Regions from separate parts of the Homo sapiens genome. Here region 1 is linked to region 2. The links are contacts of gene promoters, found by promoter capture Hi-C in human tissues and cell types (Jung and others, 2019). All regions are on one chromosome and are shown on one strand. The core of a region is centred on a gene start or on the middle of the fragment in contact, and the rest is flanking DNA. Distances in the headings are between cores, read along the strand shown. Region 1 has its middle 81 kb from the start of DOCK10. Region 2 holds the start of IRS1 (insulin receptor substrate 1).

Evidence for each region. The method cuts DNA at HindIII sites, captures the fragments that hold promoters and counts their contacts. A contact is called where the count stands out against the background at its distance.
Region 1: a contact is called between a fragment that was not itself captured here and the fragment with the promoter of IRS1 in region 2, in 1 of the 25 tissues and cell types used here (dorsolateral prefrontal cortex).

The regions. Positions count from the first base shown.
Region 1 is chr2:225,121,620-225,124,319 of GRCh38, forward strand. No RefSeq gene overlaps it. Among named protein-coding and RNA genes, the nearest start is that of DOCK10, 81 kb to the left of the region's middle. The HindIII fragment of the contact is 6,487 bases long and covers 1-2,700 here.
Region 2 is chr2:226,798,390-226,801,089 of GRCh38, forward strand. IRS1 (insulin receptor substrate 1) reads right to left here and starts at 1,431. Exons shown (of 2, transcript NM_005544.3): 1 at 1-1,431. The coding sequence starts at 349. It also overlaps a transcript of RHBDD1 not described here. RefSeq lists silencers at 250-299, 1,290-1,709, 1,730-1,799. The HindIII fragment of the contact is 12,102 bases long and covers 1-2,700 here.

The sequences.
Region 1 (2,700 bases), core at 120-2,619, 1.7 Mb before region 2:
GACTTAAAATACATGTAGAAATTAAAGCTGAATTGAAAATTAAAGATATCACATGGGCCTTGCAACTCAGAGAATAAACTTAACTCAGTGTTAAACACGTGCTCCCACAGCCCTAGATAGGACTACCTGGAAGCCTTTCTTCTCTAGGAGCCTAACACCTCATCTTTGTGGGGCTCCTTCCAACTGAGATTTGCTTTTCTTCTTCAATGCTTATTTTTATCCTGTTCCAGAAGATCTAAAGTCTCACCCTCCAGCCTACTAGCAAAAACATAAAGTCTCTTAAAAGAATACATATAACACTGTATTATAAAATATTACATAATATAATTTGTATTAGTCTGTCCTGCCACTACTATAAAGAAATGCCTGAGACTGGGTAATTTATAAGAAAAGAGATTTAACTGGCACAATGTTCCACAGGTTGTACAGGAAGCACGGCCGCATCTGCTTCTGGGGAGGCCTCAGGGAGCTTTTACTCATGGTGGAGCAGGTGTCTTACACGGCAGGAAAAGGACCCAGAGAGAGAGAGAGGTGATACACACTTTGAAACAACCAGATCTCGCGAGGACTCACTCACTCTACAGTACCAAGAGAGGATGGTGCTAAATCATTCATGAGAACTCCGCCCTCAGGATCCAGTCACCTCCCACCAGGCCCCGCCTCCAACAGTGGGGATTATGATTTGACCTGAGATTTTGTGGGGACACAGATCCAAACCGTACCAACATTATATATATTTCTCTGAAAGAACCCATTCTCCCTCAATTAAAAAAGCTTTGTGTATTATTAAACATACATTTAACATTCCACGGTTTCTTCACCAATGTCTGGTCAGTGTGTAGGTTCTTGAGTTTTGACTGAAAGGATTCACCAGGGAGAGTTGCCAGAACACAGAAAACTCTGCCCCAGAGCCTCATCCATGCTTCTATGTACAGCTCAACAAAACACATTTTTTAAAAGCATTTTGTCCTTTTTACATTACTTTTAGCTATTTTAAACATATAGGTATAGTCTCAGAGCTTCCAGTCAAATATGGATCGTCAAGCGGAAGCGGAGGACAGCCTTCCCTTAGAGAGCGATTTTCATCTGTGCTCCATCCCCATCGTGGTTTTATCTGTGTGGAAATGCGCTTCTTTGAAGTGCCGTTAACTAAGCGGGGATGGAGGAATTGGCTAGGAGCCAGGTTATAACCTTCTTACTTGGAATATTCGTCTATATCCTACGTAATGAAGTGCATTAACGTTTATACATTTTATTGCAGTTATTTAGTCAATTTTTTTATTGTAAACCAACATGGATGCTTTGTCTCAGGCATATTCTAATTAGATTATTTTAAATAAAATTATAAAGACGGCAGGATTCAGAAACGAAGTATTTATAATAAATTTGTTATTGCCAATACTAAATATTTTCTCATTTGTAGTTCCCCAGTCTGTCAGCAGGTTGCAGCAGAGGGCTGGCTTTAGTTTTAAATTAGCATGTTAAAGAGCATTAAAATATTTCTCCCTCCCTCCCTCCCCTTCCTTCCTCCTTTCCTCCTTTCCTCCCTCCCTCCCTCCCTCCCTCCCTCCCTCCCTCCCTCCCTCCCTCCCTTCCTTCCTTCCTTCCTTCCTTCCTTCCTCTCTCCCTCCCTCCCTCCTGCCCTCCCTCGCTTCTTTCCTTCTTTTTCCTCCCCTTCCATCCTTCTTCTTTCCTTCCTTCTGTCCTTTGTATCTTCCTTCTTTCTTCCTCCTTCTCTTCCTTGTTTCCTTTATTCCTTTATTCTTTCTCTCTCTTTTCTCATCCCTCCCTTCCTCCCATCTTTCCTCCTTTCTCTTTCTTCATTTCCTCCCGTCCTCCCTTTCTTTTCCTTCTTTCTTTTCCTCAGTTTTTTTCCTCTCTCTCTTTCTTGCCTCTATCCTTTCCTTCCTCCCTTCCTTCCTTCCTTCTATTTTCCTTCCTTTCTCGTTACTTTTTCTTACAATATGAACATGATACTCAATTACATTCTGTAAATGGAGGAGCTGACTCAATAGTAAAGTGTTTATGTATGTGTATATTTAAAATGATGTCTACCTTTTAGGATTTTTTTAAAATAGTACTGTAGTTAAAGATGGAGACCTTATATAGAAGAATAGAGTATCAATAACAATAAGAGTAGATAAACTTATAATTTGACTAACAAAGATAACAATAGCAAAGCCCAGATTTGGTGTGATGTATACAAACTCTTAGGATCACACTCCACTCATATAGCATATGCAAATGGCCTTGTTTTTGCAACTGCATTTGGAAATGTGGAAGAGGGAAAAAGGCATTTCAATCATAGCTCTCATTAGTTATTCACTGTATCCAGGCCGCTCAATTGTGCTTCTGTCTTTAATGTAATAGTAAGCAATAATCTCACAGCTGTGCTTTGTAGAGTGAACTATATAAGCATCTATATTGAGATTTCATACACACATAACATAAAAGCAAGAGAAAAGCATCAAGAATACCGCTTGGCCCATTGCAAAACCATACAAAAGAAATAATAACTCTCCCTCAGAACGGTTTTGTAGAGTGACCAGCTGTAAGATAGACTTGTATTCTATAATGAAATCACCATTCAAAAAGTGATTACTTCAAGGTATGACACTACTTTCCCTTTGAAACATTGATATCTTTAATTATACAACATCAGTATCAGCCACTGGGATGAGATAAAACAGATTCCTAAGC
Region 2 (2,700 bases), core at 181-2,680:
CACGGTTGTGCAGCTGTAGGAGAGCCTGGTACCAGCTGTCTTGCTCGGCCTCGCTGTCCGCCGCGATGGCAAAGTGCTCGTCCCGGGTGTAGAGAGCCACCAGGTGCTTGTTCTTGGAGTCAGCCCGCTTGTTGATGTTGAAGCAGCTCTCAAGGGGGATCGAGCGTTTGGGGGCGCTCGACTTGTGCCGCCACTTCTTCTCGTTCTCGTAGTACTCGAGGCGCGCCGGGCCCCCAGCCTCGCTGGCCGCGCGCAGTACGAAGAAGCGTTTGTGCATGCTCTTGGGTTTGCGCAGGTAGCCCACCTTGCGCACGTCCGAGAAGCCATCGCTCTCCGGAGGGCTCGCCATGCTGCCACCGCCACCACCAACGCTGAGCAGAGGGAGGCTCCGAAAAACAACCGGGTGGGGGGCGGAGGCTCCTCGCCGCGGCCCGGCACATGCAAACAGGGCTGGAGGCAGCAGAAACCCCGACTCTGAAATCCACGCCGCCCCCCGCGCCGGGGAGGGGCAGCTGAAGGAGGACGCAGCTGCTGAGCCCAGGAGAGAGCCCGACCGGAGTTTTCGGGCGCTTCACGCCCGGCGGGGAGGCAGTGCGTCCGGGGTGAGGGCAGCCCCGATCCTCCGAGAGCCAAGTCTCCTCTCAGCCGCCGCCGCCACCAGGAAGGAGCGAAGATGCATCTCTCGTCGCCCCGGCTGGAGTCCGGCACAGGGAGGCGACAGTCGGGGGTCCCTGCGGTGCCCCTCCAGGAGCGCGCGCGCGCGCGCGCCTTCCCTCCTGAGTTCCCCTCTGGAAGCAGCGATTCCCGAGGCAAATTAAATATCCTTGGGCAGGGGGAGGCGGGTTGCCAAGTCCCAACGTTGCACGGGGTTCTCCCTCCTCCTTCGCCTCCTCCCACCCCCCAACCGTCCCAGCCGCCACCAGCCGCCCAAATACCAGCTCAGTCGCAGAGACCGCGGCGCTGCGGCTGTTGCTGTTGCTGCTGCTGCTGCTGCTGCTGCTGCCGCCGCCCGCGGGCGCGTCCTCTGCAGCCCCCATCCGGGCCCATCTCGGCGGGTGGAGAAAGTGGCTTTTCCATGCGAAACGATACCGGGCAGCCACTGCAGCTGGGGACCGGCCGGAGGGACAGACTCATCCCTGCCCCTCGCTCCAGGCGGCTGGGGAGGAGGGGAGGGGACAAGGGCGAGAGGGGATGGGGGAGGTTTGGGAAGGGTTCGGGGAAGACGCCTGTTCCTCGGGAGGCGCTGCCGCTGCAGTTACTTCTCCCCTCCTCCCTCCTCCTCCTCCTCCTCGGAGAGTTGCCGAGAGCCCCAACCAAAACAAGCGGCGGCGTCTGGCTCTGCGCGCCGGCCCCCTCCGACCGCGCCGCCGTCTCACTCGGAGGAGAAAAACACGTGACGGAGCCTCCGCGCTCGGCAGCCGGGCAGCCGCCGCCGGGAGGCTCCCGCCCGGGTCTCTACATTCCGGGCCGAGCCCGCCCCGCGCCCGCCCCTCTCCGCCCCCCAGCCGTGCTGCAGCGGCGCCCGCGCCGACCCCGGCGCAGCGCTAGGACAGCGCCCCTGCGCGGCCGCCAGCTCCGGCGCAGCGCCTCCCTACACGCGCGCCAACCGGGGCGCCCCCGGCCCGCAGGAATCCCCGCGGCGGGCGCAGGCGGGGGTGTTTGGGTGGCTACCCGAAAGCACGAGGGGAGTCTGGGAAAACGGGAGGGGGCGAGCTCGGGAAGACGCAGGAGTGAGGGTGGGGGGCCACGGGGGGGCACTGCGGCTACAGAGCCCCGAGTGGGAGGCCGGGGGGAGGCGGGGGCGCCGGAGCTGGGCTGCCTCTTACCTATCAGGTAAGACTGACCCACGGGAGGGAGGTTTCTAGTCAAGGCTGTTTCCCCCAGGAAATTTAAAAGCTAGATTTCGGCTTCAGGGCGATAGGCCATGGTGAGGGGATCTGTATTTTTTAAGGTTTTTCTAAAGGACTTCTGGGCCAGCCTTCCACCTTGGGATCCCCAGATTTGCTGCCGTGAGGTACCTGGAAGGAACAGAGGGACGCCCAAGGGCAGTGACTGGGGGCAGTTATGGTCACTACAAAAGGAGAACAGGGATCCCCAGGAAGTGTCTCACGTCCGGCGCTGTGGAATTAGTTGCTGATCAAGTAGGGAGAAAATGTAAATATCACCTTTTCTCCTGCTCCCCTTGCCCATCCGTGTGACGGGGGGACTCACACCTAAGGCTGAGGGCATGGGGGAGGGGAAATGAGAGGTCCCTTATCATATTCCGAAGTCTATCCGTGACTTTAAAAAGCTGTTAGGGACCTTCAGAGGGTTCATAAGGCCAAAACCCTACTGTGCAAATATTGGCTGAAATGTTTGTTTCACACACAGCTCCCACACCCATTGAACCACCCTATAAGTTTTTAACCTTGACCACAAGGATAACAGGGAGAAAACAAGGATGGTGCCAGCTCAACTGTACAGGAAAATGGTTACTTCATGAGTGGACCAGATCAGCAGCCTGGGTCTACTTGAAGCGCCCCTTTCAGGGTCACCTTGCGGTATCAGTCTCCCCACAAACAAACGCTCCCCAGAGTTTTTTTATTTTTTAAGCCGACCTATAAACAAGCAGTTTGTCCCTGCTTGCTCGCCTGGCACTAAGGACCCACAGAGATGTCACTCGGTTTAATGCTGTCTCATTTTGATGCCTGGCCCGTTTGG